5 separate regions of the Homo sapiens genome follow, and all the other regions are linked to region 1. The links are contacts of gene promoters, found by promoter capture Hi-C in blood cells and fetal thymus (Javierre and others, 2016). All regions are on one chromosome and are shown on one strand. The core of a region is centred on a gene start or on the middle of the fragment in contact, and the rest is flanking DNA. Distances in the headings are between cores, read along the strand shown. Region 1 holds the start of NUDT16L1 (nudix hydrolase 16 like 1). Region 2 overlaps TFAP4 (transcription factor AP-4). Region 3 has its middle 20 kb from the start of GLIS2. Region 4 overlaps CORO7-PAM16 (CORO7-PAM16 readthrough). Region 5 has its middle 4.0 kb from the start of SEC14L5.

Region 1 (2,565 bases), core at 30-2,529:
ATGGGAGACCCACGCAGGGCCTGGCAGAAGCCAGCCAGCTCCCTCGGAGCAGTGCAGCCCCCTCCTCCCCAAGCAAGTGTGGAGGCTGACCCCATGCACTCCCCCCCCTCGTACCCAGGCCACCCCACCCCGGGGTCCGCACCCCATGCTCCCCCCGTCCACCCAACGAAGCCTGAACACCCGCAGTCCAGCCCTTCCAGACCACAAAGTACAAATCCCAAGAGCCTTCACGCCCAACATGAGGTTCCCAAGTTTTACAACCCCCGCTGTGCTCAAGTTTCCCAACTCCCCAAGCAATCCCCGCTCCTCCCCCATCCCTTCCTCCCCACCGATCCCACTCCCCCACTCCCAGGATTGGCAATGGCAGGCAGCAAGGCGGATGTAACACAGCCCTGAGGGAGCCCCAGCGCCGGCCCCCACCCCCGCCCCTCCTTTCCCGGCCTCCCAGCCCCAGACCCCTCTCCCCACCCCATTGCTGGAGACAGCGACACCCGACCCAGCCCGGCCAGGGGACCCTCAGGAGACGTGTTACCCATCGGTGCCTTCCACGGGGCCAGAGCCAAACCCCGGGGCGGGGGGCGGGGCCCGGGCGGCGGCCCCACCTCCAGGCCGTGGTCGCGCGAGTGCACCGCGCTGATCTCCACGGCGTGCAGCTGCTCCAGCGTCAGCTGCCGCGCGTACAGGTGCGCCACGACGCGGTGTGGGCCCTCGGTCAGGTGCGAGCTCAGGTAGTCGGCCTCGGTGAGGCGCAGGCAGCCCAGGCCCAGGCCCAGCACCCGGTTCAGGCCGTCCTCCAGCGACCAGAAGCGCCGGTCCACGAAGCCCCCGGGGAAGCCCAGCAGCCCGTCGAAACGCATCTGCATCTGCAAGGGAGCGCGGGTCACAGCCGCGGGGTCGACGGACGCCCCCGCCCGGGCCCGCCCGCGCCGGCACCCTCGCCCGCGCCCTCGCCCGTCCTCACCAGCACCGAGAAGCGCATGGGGATGCGGCCGAAGAGCTGCCCAGGGTTGGCGGCGTACAGCATGGCGTGGCACGAGTGGCTCCAGCCCGGCCCTAGGCGCATCGCCTCCACCCGGCTGATCTGCTTCAGCTCCGGAACCGCCGCCGTCGACATCTTGGCACTGACCCCGTCCCCGCCGCTGCCACTTAAGAGCATGCGCGAGCCCGCCCCCGCCGTGCCTCGCCAATCCGCGGGCGGCCGCGCCCCCGGGTCCGGTTCCCCCGCCAATCGCCGGCGCGCCCCGGGACCGAGCCCCTCGCAGCGCCGCGGTGCGTCGTCGAGAGGTGCTGCGGGCGGTGTGCAAAGGAGGGCGGTGCGCGTCAGCCGTCACCCAATAGTCGCACACCCTGGGCGGCGGCCCCGCCTCCGACGGGAGAGCCTAGACGACTGGTCGGTGCCGTGGTGGCTCAAGGTTGACATTGTGGGCGACGAACATCTTCCTTGGCGCCCCAAAGCGGACAGCCGAAATTCCCTGCGGTTTCTCCACCCTCGATGGCGCCGATCCCCTTGCGCCCACCCGTTTCTCCCCAGGAGGCCGACCCGGCCCGCATGGCCCCGTCCATCCGCAATGGCACCCTTGGCACGACCACACGAGCCAGAGATGCCCCGGAGCCTTGCTCCGCCAGCGCCACCGGACCCAAGCCCGGAGGGAGATGGCCTTCGCCTGCCATGCACGACAGCTGTCCCGACCTAGCCACCCTGCTGGCAGGCTCGATCCAGGACAGCACGGGGAGCAGGGCTTGGCAGGGCTTGAGTGCCCCAGTCCCCGAGTCCACGCTGGGTCAGGGCGGACGACCGGGAGCTCTGGGGCTCTGTGGACCCAGCTTGCTGGGCAGAAAGTGACTTAAATTCCGGGGCTGGACCTTTCCAGCATCCTCCAAGCCGGGCACCCTGTGCCAGGTACTGTGGGGGGAAGAGGGGTTTCCCCAATTTACGATGAGGAACTTGGAGCTCAGAGAGGGACATAACTTGCCTAAGTACAACTGGCAGTTGATGACAGAGGCAGAATCCCGATTCCACAAGGGCCTGAGGTACTTACCACTTACCTTGTGTTTGTACTGGAGATGTCTCTGGGGCTCAGAAGCATCCGAAACAGCCCAAGGCAGAGCGAGGTGCCCTGAACTCCATGATGGCAAGGCTCACCTCACCAGCAGCAGGGCCCAGGGCCACTTTCCTCCCCACCAGGGGAATGGATTTGCTGAGCACATGAACCCCCCTGCCTGCACTCACAGCATGGGTGCCCAGGGCTGGGGCACAGCCTCGGGAGAGCCGTGCAGTGAGGCCGAGCTCGCTGGCACAGAGAAGGCTGCCTTCAGTGGAGGCAGGCAGGAGAAGAGAGAGGGAGAGGGTGGGCATTGGAAACTCACCTGTTAGGTCCGTGGTGGCCTCAGATGTGGAGAATAAGGACCCAGAGAGGGCACCTCTCTCTCCTCCTGTGGCCACCAGTGGGTCAGGGGTCACATGGGACAGCTGCAAGCAGCAGGGGAAGTCCAGATTCCAGAGTGAGCGACCATGTGAGAAGGCGAGAGGGCAGCGAGGGGAAGGGTCCTCTCACCCAAAGAGGG
Region 2 (2,565 bases), core at 31-2,530, 430 kb after region 1:
GGTGTTCCCGGCAGAGGGAATAGCATAGGCAAAGACTCGGGCAGGAGGGAGCATGGTCCAGTGGAGGCCGAGGTGGGAGGCGAGAGGAGCCGGGGGCTGAAGGGCTCTGGAAAGGCTTCTGGCCTCTGTTGAGAGGGGCCCGCCCTGTGCTAGGGTTTTCAGCAGGAGTGAATGAGCTGCTGTGAGACTGACAGGGCAGGGTGTGCTCCCGGCCTTGGCCCTGAGCCCAGGTTGTCCTGCCTCCAGGTGCGCTCGCTGGAGGCCCACATGTACCCGGAAAAGCTCAAGGTGATTGCGCAGCAGGTGCAGCTGCAGCAGCAGCAGGAACAGGTGAGGCTGCTGCACCAGGAGAAGCTGGAGCGGGAACAGCAGCAGCTGCGGACCCAGGTGAGCAGGAGGCGCCCGGGAGTGGGCTCTGGGGACCGGGAAGGGGACAGGTGATCTTGAATGGCGGAAGCCTCTCCCTAGGCCACGTCCTCTCTGCTTCTTAATATAAAGGGGCAGAGGCAGTTATACATTGGCCAGCTCTGCATGAAAGGGAGGTGGATGGGCCAAGAGAAGCCTTGAGAGAAAGGCTGAGGGCCTCTGTCTTGCAGCTTCTGCCCCCTCCGGCCCCCACCCACCACCCCACGGTGATCGTGCCAGCACCGCCTCCTCCTCCCTCCCACCACATCAATGTCGTCACCATGGGCCCCTCCTCGGTCATCAACTCTGTTTCCACATCCCGGCAAAATCTGGACACCATCGTGCAGGTACCTGAGCTTGAGAAAGGGGCAGCTTGTGGGGGTCATACTCCGGGAACAGGCTCTTTAGGGGAGACTGGAAAAGAGGGGCAGAAGCGGAGGAAGATGGTGCTTGTGTGGGAAGGGGTGGAGGGCTGGAAGCCTTGGGGGGCCCCGTCCCTGGATCTGCAAGTGGAGAATGTGAGGGCCAGAGATCGGGGCAGGGCCTACCACGCCAGTAGGAGGAGTTGGCCAGGAAGACTGTCCCTTCCCTCAATATGGGGTTTCCGGAGAGGGTCCTTTGCTCCCAGAGCCCCCTGGTTACAGAGTTCCTGCATCCAGCTCTTGGGTTGGTCCGGAACATTGTCTCAGCTCCATCTCCTAGGACCTGGATGGAGATACAGGTGGCAGGGCTGGTGATAGTTGGGCCTCCTACAGAGGAGGAAGCTTTGTGGGTCAAGCCTGAAGTTACAGTTGCATTCACCCTTGAACAGGGCCCCTTGAGGAGCCCAAGATCAGAAATCAGTAAATAATAAATAAATAACCAAAAAAGCCAAAACAGGAAAAAAAATCCATCAATCTCCTCGAATTTTAATTGCTCATAAACTTTGCAAATTGTGTAATACAATTAATAACAAACGCCTTTAATAAGTTAATAGGCAAGCTTTAAAATACATAAACATATGGCCGGGTGTGGTGGCTCACACCTGCAATCCCAGCACTTTGGGAGGCCAAAGTGGGTGGATCACTTGAGGTCAGGAGTTCGAGACCAGCCTGGCCAACATGGTGAAAACCCCATCTCTATTAAAAATACAAAAATTAGCCTGACGTGGTGGTGCACGCCTGTAATCCCAGCTATTCGGGAGGCTGAGGCAGGAGAATCGCTTGAACATGGGAGGTGGAAGTTGCAGTGAGCTGAGATTGCACCACTGAACTCCAGCCTGGGTGACACGGTGAGACTCTTTCTCAAAAAACAAACAAACAAAAACATATGAAAGGTCCATATTATTTCTTTTTTTTTCTTTTTTTTTGAGATAGAGTTTCGCTCTTATTGCCCAGGCTGGAGTGCAATGGTGCTATCTCAGCTCATCGCAACCTCCTCCTCCCAGGTTCAAGTGATTCTCCTGCCTCAGCCTCCCAAGTAGCTGGGATTATAGGCATGTGCCACCACGCCTGGCAAATTTTGTATTTTTAGTAGGCTTCTGGCCTCTGTTGAGGGGCTGGTCTCGAACTCCTGACGTCAGGTGATCCTCCCGTCTTGGCCTCCCAAAGTGTTGGGATTACAGGCGTGAGCCACTGCGCCTGGCTGATACATATAATATAATTTCTAAGCAGCACTGGGACTGTCATCTTCCCAGAATGGATTTTTCAACTTAACAGAGGGGTTTTGAAAGTTTGTTCCTGGGTCAGGCGTGGTGGCTTATGCCTGTAATCCCGGGACTTTTGGAGGTTGAGGCAGGAAGATTGCCTGAGGTCAGGAGTTCGAGATCAGCTTGGGCAACATAGCAAGAACCCCCTCGTCTCTACCAAAAATACAGAAGTTAGCTGGGGATGGTGGCGCACCCCTGTGGTTCCAGCTACTAGGGAGGGAGCAGTAGGAGGATCGCTGGAGCCCAGGAGTCTGACTGCAGTAAGCTATGATCATGCCACTGCACTCTAGCCTGGGTGATATAGCGAGAGCTTGTCTCCAAAAAAAAAGTAAAAGGAGTTTGTTTTTCCTGTACTCTAGCGGGCCTCCCCTGCTGCTTTGCCAGGCTTTTTTCTGGGCTATGTGTTTTGGGGGTGACAGTGGCTGGCTGAGAGCCCCCACTGTCTCCTGGCTGGCCATGTATCCCCGGCCGAG
Region 3 (2,565 bases), core at 29-2,528, 400 kb after region 1:
ACAGGAGAGATGGTGGAGGCGGGAGGAGCAAGAAAGGGGTGAGGTTAGAAGCCTGGTCCCAGCTGGGGCTGCAGCTGGGGGCCTGCAGGCTCTGGCCTGCCCTGGGAGGCCCTCCCTGTACCTGCAGCTGCATCTGGGGCCGGAGGAGGGGCCAGGCGTCCTTCCGCTCCAGGAGCTGCTGCCTGTCCCCCTCCCATGACACATGAGGACTGTGTCTGGTCGATTCACATTGGAGGGTCCCTGAATGAGCTTTGTCCATTAGAGGACCTGTATTCTTGTTCCTGGAACCTGGGAGTGGGTCAGAAGGGTGACTCACACCTGTAATCCCAGCACTTTGGGAGGCCAAGGTGGGTGGATTACCTGAGGTCAGGAGTTTGAGACCAGCCTGGCCAACATGACGAAACCCCATCTCTACTAAAAATATAAAAATTAGCTTGGCATGGTGGTGCGTGCCTGTAATCCCAACCACTCGGGAGGCTGAGACAGGAGAACTGCTTAAACCTGGGAGGCAGAGGTTGCAGTGAGCCGAAATTGCGCCATTGCACTCCAGCCTGGGTGACAAGAGTGAGACTCTGTCTCAAAAAATAAAAATAGGCCGGGCGCAGTCGCTCACGCCTGTAATCCCAGCACTTTGGGAGGCCGAGGCAGGCAAATCACAAGGTTAGGAGATCGAGAGCATCCTGGCTAACACAGTGAAACCCCATCTCTACTAAAAATACAAAAAATTAGCCAGGTGTGGTGGCGGGCGCCTGTAGTCCCAGCTACTCCAGAGGCTGAGGCAGGAGAATGGCGTGAACCCAGGAGGCAGAGCTTGCAGTGAGCCAAGTTCGCGCCACTGCACTCCAGCCTGGGTGACAGAGAGAGACTCTGTCTAAAATAAATAAATTAGTTAATAATAATAAAAATAAAAAATAAAATCAAGCTGGGAGCAGTGGCTCATGCTTGTAATCCCGGCACTTTGGGAGGCTGAGACCGGCAGATCACCTGAGGTCAGGAGTTCGAGACCAACCTGGCCAACATGGTGAACCCCGTCTCTACTAAAAATACAAAAATTTGGCCGGGCACAGTGGCTCACGCCTGTAATCCTAGCACTTTGGGAGGCCAAGGCGGGCGGATCATGAGTTGAGGAGATCGAGACCATCCTGGCTAACACGGTGAAACCCCAGACCCCATCTCTACTAAAAAAATTAGCCGGGTGTGGTGGTGGGTGCCTGTAGTTTCAGCTACTCGGGAGGCTGAGCCAGGAGAATCGCTTGAACCAGGGAGGTGGAGGTTGCAGTGAGCTGAGATCGCACCACTGTACTCCAGCCTGGGTGACAGAGTGAGACTCCATCTCAAAAAAAGATTAAAAAATAAAAATAAGATATAATTCACATACCGTAAAATTCACCTCTTTGAAGTGTACAATCAGTGGTTTTTAGTGTATTCAGAGTCGTGCAACCATCATCAACATCTAATTTCAGAACATTTTCACCATCCCAAAAAGAAACCCTATACTCAAGAAGCAGCCACTCCCCATTCCTCTTTCCTCCCAGGCCCTGGCAACGCACCAGCCTGTTTTCTGCCTCTATGGATTTCCCTATTCTGGGCATTTCAAATAAAGTGGTGGTCTCTTGTGATTGGCTTTTCACTTAATGTTTCAAGGTTCGTCTATATTGTAGCATAGATCAGCACCTTGTTCCTTTTTATTTTTGAGACACAGTCTCGCTCTGTCGCTCAGGCTGGAGTGCAATGGTGAAATCTCTGCTCATTGCAAGCTCTGCCTCCCAAGTTCAAGCGATACTTGTGCCTCAGCCTCTGGAGTAGCTGGGATTACAGGCGTGGACCACCACGCCCGGCTATTTTTGCTCGTTTTTAGTAGAGATGGAGTTTCGTCATGTTGGCCAGGCTGGTCTTAAACTCCTGACTTCAAGTGATCGGCCCGCCTCAGCCTCCCAAAATGCTGGGATTACAGGGCGGCATGAGCCACCACACCCGGCCTTTATCTGTCTGTCTGTCTGTCTGTCTATCTATCTATCTAATCTATCTATTTTTGAGACAGAGTCTCCCTCTGTCCCCCAGGCTGAAGTGCAATGGCACAATCTCATCTCACTGCAACCTCTGCCTCCTGGGTTCAAGTGATTCTCCTGCCTCAGTCTCCCAACTAGCTAGGATTACGGGCGCCCACCACCACCCCCAGCTGATTTTTGTATTTTGAGTAGAGATGGGGTTTCACCATATTGCCCAGGCTGCTCTCCAACTCCTGGCCTCAAGCAACCCGCCTGCCTTGGCCTCCCAAAGTGCTGTGATTACAGGCATGAGCCACCGTGCCCAGCTTTTTTTTTTTTTTTTTTTTTTGAGACAGAGTCCTGCTCTGTCACCCATTTTGGAGTGCAGTGGCATGATCTCAGCTCACTGCAACCTCCACCTCCCAGGTTCAAACGATTCTTCTGCCTCAGCCTCCCGCGTAGCTGGGACTACAGGCGTGCATCACCACGCCCAGCTAATTTTTGTATTTTTAGTAGAGACAGGGTTTCACCGTATTGGCCGGGCTGGTGTCCGACTCCTGACCTCAGGTGATCCGCT
Region 4 (2,565 bases), core at 66-2,565, 350 kb after region 1:
TAGCTGGGATTTTTGCACACAGGTGATCCCAAAGCCTGCAGGTGTAACCATTACACTACACTGCGTCTTCTCAGAGATGCCTCCTATAGGAACCTTGCTGGCCTCAATGGGCCGTCCAGTCTGCTGAAACTTTGCAGGCCAGCCCCCCTCTGCCCTGCAGCTCTAGGCAGCTGAAGCCACAGGCCACCACGCCGCTTTGGTTTGAAGTGTGCAGGGGATGGTCGGGGAAGCTCCCCAGTTATGACCTCAGCTCTTACCGTTCATTATTTTGCAACAGTCATTGGCCTTGGCAGAAAAGTAAACAAGTGATTGCAAGGCTGTACGATGGCAGCAGAGGGACCGAAGGCTGTTGGTGTGAGGGGTAGTCTGAGACCTGAGCCGTGTTTCAAGCCGAGGGGACCCTCTGACTTTCACCTCTGTCCTTCAGACAGCACCAGCATCCCATCCCTGAGCCTCCTGTTCCACTCGGGAGGGGCTTTAGGAAGGAGGCGAAGTCAGGTGAGACCGCAGGTGTCATCAGGTGCATCCCTGACCCTCCCTCATCTGCAGTACAGCCACAGCCCTGCCCCTCGCTGTGATCACAGGAGGGTCTTCTCTGGGCTCTTTCTGCTGTGAAATCCAGAAGTTATGAAGTTTCCACCTACTTTTGAAATCTTAACCCACTTGTTTGTTCATTCCCCTAATGGCCCATAATGACATCCCACCTGTTAAGGAAAGAGCAGGTCCTCGGAGGCTGAACAAGGCCAGCTCTGGAGTCGAATCCACTGGAATCTGGAGCAAGCCCCTCTGGCCTCGGGGTTGGGTTCTTGATACTTGTCGGCTTGCCCAGGTGCCCTACCTTCAGACCCCGGGACCCTGCGTAGTGACTGCTGTGACAGATAGCACCAGCCTTGGGTTTCCGATCTGCCTCCGAGGCACCTGCTGTTACGTCCTCGGGCCAGTCAGCAGTCCCCCACCCCTGAGTTGTCAGAATTAAACGGCACAATGAATTGAACGTGTTTGGCACCGTGCCTGGTGTGTGGACTCAGTTGATACTTGTTGACTGAAGGCAAATCTACAGAAAAGCACTAGGAAGAAAGGGAAAGTCACTCGGCTGTGCCACATGAGCTTTCAACCTATGCCGAGCTGCCTCCAGCCCGCGCCACCCCCCTGCGTCTACGGCTTTGCAGTCACAAGATCCTTTGTATGTGCTGTCTATATATAATCGCTTTGTTTCACAAAGATCTGTGCATCTTTCCATGTCATCCGCCAGATTCCCAGTCTTTCCCAGGCCAGCCTAGGCTATTGGCTGCTCGCAGGAACTCCCTTCTGCCTTCTCTCCTGCCAGTTTTGGCTCAACCCAGTCCCTCTGCCTAGAAAGCCCTAGTATTTCCATCATGATTCTTCCTACCCTGCAAAGCCCAGCCCAGGAGGAACCCCCTCCTCTCACGGAACCCCCTCCTCTCACAGAACCCCCTCCTCTCACACAATCCCCTCCTCTCACACAATCCCCTCCTCTCACAGAACCCCCTCCTCTCACGGAACCCCCTCCTCTCACAGAACCCCCTCCTCTCACGGAACCCCCTCCTCTCACGGAACCCCCTTCTCTCACGGAACCCCCTCCTCTCACAGAACCCCCTCCTCTCACGGAACCCCCTCCTCTCACGGAACCCCCTCCTCTCACAGAACCCCCCCTCACACAATCCCCTCCTCTCACGGAACCCCCTCCTCTCACAGAACCCCCTCCTCTCACGGAACCCCCTCCTCTCACACAGTCCCCTTCTCTCACAGAACCCCCTCCTCTCACAGAACCCCCTCCTCTCACAGAACCCCCTCCTCTCACACAGTCCCCTCCTCTCAGAGAACCCCCTCCTGTCACACAGTCCCCTCCTCTCACAGAACCCCCTCCTCTCACACAGAACCCCCTCCTCTCACACAGAACCCCCTCTTCTCACACAGAACCCCCTCCTCTCACGGAACCCCCTCCTCTCACAGAACCCCCTCCTCTCACACAGAACCCCCTCCTCTCACAGAACCCCCTCCTCTCACGGAACCCCCTCCTCTCACGGAACCCCCTCCTCTCACGGAACGCCCTCCTCTCACACAGAACCCCCTCCTCTCACCGAATCCCATCTCAGTCTTGAGTTTTCCCTCGACTCTGTTGCTTCCGCTCACATCTTAGTGAGTCCCCAGGGCCTCTGCGGGGCATGGAATCACACGTGCAGTGTTCCGGCATGTTCAGCCTGGTGTGTGACAGTGGGGTTCCCTGCCAGGCCAGCAGTGTGCTCTGACTCGGGGCAGGGACCAGGTTCTGTGTAGCTTTGTGCTCAAGTGCTGAGCAGAGTAGACTCTCAGCAGATGTTTGAATGAATGGGTGAACCAATGGCTGCACAAATGAACGAGCCTGACTCTCCCTCATGATTTGGTCCATAGTGTGTTTAAATACCCTCCTAGTGGGCTTTTAGCTCCTTGAAGATGGAAACAGGTTTGCATAGTAAGTTTGTTTTATTGAATGGAATGGACTTAAAGTCTTCGGACTTGGGAGAATTAGGACAGATCTGTTTCCCCGTTGGTAAAGTAAAGGTT
Region 5 (2,565 bases), core at 33-2,532, 260 kb before region 1:
CTACCACTTGTTGACACTCCATTGGCGCTTACTATACCTAGCACCATTCTAAAGCTTTACAAACACGAATGCATTTAATCCTCAAAGCAACCCCAGAGCAATGAAAATGTCTTGGAATGTGATAGAGGTGGTGGTTGCACAACGTTGCAAATGCACATGCCACTGAATTGGGGCCACAATATTAAAATGATTAATTTTCTGTTACGTGGCTTTCATCTCAATTAAAAGCCCATATACAGTCAAAACTATTTTAATCCTCATCTTACACGTAGGGAAACTAAGGCACAAGGCACAGAGAGACTGAATAACTTGCCCAAGGCCACACAGCTAGTAAGGAACTCATACCCAGGACTCTCGTTCTCCAATGACTTCTTCTCCTAGAGCTGCAGCTGATGCTCCGGGAAGATGTGATTTCCAAGCCCTGAACTGCAAGATCTCCAGGCACCCTGGCTCCAGGACAAGAAGGCGCTGCAAGGATAGGCTGATTCCCCAGGGGTGCTGGGCATGAACTCAGTCCCAGGGCAGGATCTTTAGCCTCTATCTGCTGCTTCCCACCTGCCCTGCAAGAATGACCCAGCCAATGCTGCCTTTTGTGGAGGTGGGTTTTGGGAACCCCAGAAACCACCTCATGTCTCTGAATGTCTTCCCAGCAGATGGGCCACTGCCAGAGAAGATTCAACCATTAGTGATGCATTTGTTTGAGTAAAACTCTGGACCCCATCCAAAGGCAGATGTTCCTGGAAGGCATCCTGCTGGGAATGTCCTGAGTTGAATGGCTCAGTGTGACATTGAGAATGGGGGTTAAGACCCTGGAATACATAATGGGCCCTGGGATGGCTCTGAAGCTGAAGAAGATGCAGTAAGCAGGGTACGGTCCCCAGCTTAATTTTATTGTGGCAAAATGGTCCGAGCACAGTGGCTCATGCCGGTAATCCCAACAGTTTGGGAGGCCGAGGTGGGCGGATCACCTGAGGTCAGGAGTTCGAGACCAGCCTGGACAACATGGCAAAAACCTGTCTCTACTAAAAATGAAAAAATTAGCCAGGCATGGTAGCGCATGCCTGTAATCCCAGCTACTCAGGAGGCTGAGGTAGGAGAATCACTTGAACCTGGGAGGTGGAGGGTGCAGTGAGCTGAGATCACACAACTGCACTCCAGCCTGGGCAACAGAGTGAGACTCCATCTCAAAAAAAAAAAAAAAAAAGAAAAAAATCAGCTGGGCACGATGGCTCATGCCTGTAATCCCAGCACTTTGGGAGACCGAGGTGGGCAGATCACCTGAGGTTGGGAGTTCGAGGCCAGCCTGATCAACATGAACAAACCTCGTCTCTACTAAAAATACAAAATTAGCTGGGTGTGGTGATGCATGCCTGAAATCCCAGCTACTGGGGAGGCTGAGGCAGGAGGATCGCTTGAACCCGGGAGGCAGAGGTTGCGGTGAGTCAAGATCATGCCATTGCACTCCAGCCTGGGCAACAAGAGAGAAACTCCATCTCAAAAAAAAAAAAAGCACATAACACAAAAGTTACCATTTTAACCATTTCTTAGTGTGCTGCATGCCTGTAATCCCAGCTACTCAGGAGGCTGAGGCAGGAGAATTGCTTGAACCCAGCAGGTGGAGGTTGCAGTGAGCCAAGATCATGTCATTGCACTCCAGCCTGGGTGACAGAGCGAGACTCTATCTCAAAAAAAAAAAATGCACATAACACAAAAGTTACCATTTTAACCATTTCTTAGTGTACAATTCTCTGGCTTTTGGTATATTCACAAGATGCACGTACAGCCAGCACCACTTTCTAGTTTTGGAACATTTTCATCACCCCAAAAGGAAACTCATACCCATGAAGCTGTCACTCCTCCTTCCTCCCTTCCCGCAGCCCCTGGAAACCATCCATCTGTTTATCTGCTTCCTGGGGGACATCTCATTCGTCCCGGGTGGCCTCTACGTTGTGTTGCTTCTTGCCCCTTCTCGAAGCAGAGCCCTGAGGCCTCCTGGATTTGGGAATCTCCAGGGCTATCATGATGGTTGGCAGGGCTGTTACGTACAGGTGTATAGGTTGTAACCTGCACAACTCTGTGGAACAGTCCTGGTCATGGGAGCAGCTTTGACTGAGCAGAGGCTGAGTCTGAGGCAGTCTGACCCAGGGGGCTACACAGCCAGGACCCACCCACCTTGACCCCCAGCCGGGCACCCAAGTCCATTCACTTCACAAAGACTTCTGGGCTCCACCAACTGCTACATGAAGCCCAAAGGAGAGAATGGAACACAGCGGGAGGAGGGTGGCCCAGGGGATGGGAGGGGTGGCCCTGTGGGAGGGGTCAGGTGGCCGGGCACTTGGGGCGGGTACAGGAGTCAGACCAACCTTGATGTGCGTTCTGACCCTGCCACCCCCTAGCTTTGTTGCCTCAATGTCCCCTCTTTTTTTTTTTTTTTTTTTTTTGAGACAGAGTCTCACTCTATCGCCCAGGCTGGAGTGCAATGGCGTGATCTCGGCTCATTGCAAGCTTCGCCTCCCAGGTTCATGCCATTCTCCTCCCTCAGCCTCCCGAGTAGCTGGGACTACA

What was found. The method cuts DNA at HindIII sites, captures the fragments that hold promoters and counts their contacts. A CHiCAGO score of 5 or more calls a contact.
Region 2: a contact is called between a fragment that was not itself captured here and the fragment with the promoter of NUDT16L1 in region 1, in 2 of 17 cell types (naive CD8 T cells and total CD8 T cells). The highest score is 6.0, in naive CD8 T cells.
Region 3: a fragment that was not itself captured here is called in contact with the fragment with the promoter of NUDT16L1 in region 1 in 1 of 17 cell types (neutrophils); the score reaches 5.6 in neutrophils.
Region 4: a contact is called between a fragment that was not itself captured here and the fragment with the promoter of NUDT16L1 in region 1, in 1 of 17 cell types (naive CD4 T cells). The highest score is 5.2, in naive CD4 T cells.
Region 5: a fragment that was not itself captured here is called in contact with the fragment with the promoter of NUDT16L1 in region 1 in 7 of 17 cell types (neutrophils, endothelial precursors, M2 macrophages and 4 more); the score reaches 11.6 in neutrophils.

Annotation. Positions count from the first base shown.
Region 1 is chr16:4,692,276-4,694,840 of GRCh38, reverse strand. It overlaps NUDT16L1 (nudix hydrolase 16 like 1), which reads right to left and starts at 1,279. Exons shown (of 3, transcript NM_032349.4): 1 at 962-1,279; 2 at 603-863. The coding sequence starts at 1,114. RefSeq lists enhancers at 352-859, 860-1,367, 1,619-1,708 and silencers at 459-958, 1,069-1,428. The HindIII fragment of the contact is 13,448 bases long and covers 1-2,565 here.
Region 2 is chr16:4,258,277-4,260,841 of GRCh38, reverse strand. It overlaps TFAP4 (transcription factor AP-4), which reads left to right. Exons shown (of 7, transcript NM_003223.3): 5 at 247-387; 6 at 597-752. Among named protein-coding and RNA genes, the nearest start is that of LINC01569, 5.8 kb to the right of the region's middle. The HindIII fragment of the contact is 217 bases long and covers 1,172-1,388 here.
Region 3 is chr16:4,294,750-4,297,314 of GRCh38, reverse strand. No RefSeq gene overlaps it. Among named protein-coding and RNA genes, the nearest start is that of GLIS2, 20 kb to the left of the region's middle. RefSeq lists enhancers at 1-580, 2,220-2,565. The HindIII fragment of the contact is 3,103 bases long and covers 1-2,565 here.
Region 4 is chr16:4,343,719-4,346,283 of GRCh38, reverse strand. All of the region lies in intron 27 of CORO7-PAM16 (CORO7-PAM16 readthrough), which reads left to right. All of the region lies in intron 1 of PAM16 (presequence translocase associated motor 16), which reads left to right. Among named protein-coding and RNA genes, the nearest start is that of PAM16, 6.3 kb to the left of the region's middle. RefSeq lists a silencer at 1,150-1,350. The HindIII fragment of the contact is 3,035 bases long and covers 1-2,565 here.
Region 5 is chr16:4,953,057-4,955,621 of GRCh38, reverse strand. No RefSeq gene overlaps it. Among named protein-coding and RNA genes, the nearest start is that of SEC14L5, 4.0 kb to the left of the region's middle. The HindIII fragment of the contact is 2,451 bases long and covers 57-2,507 here.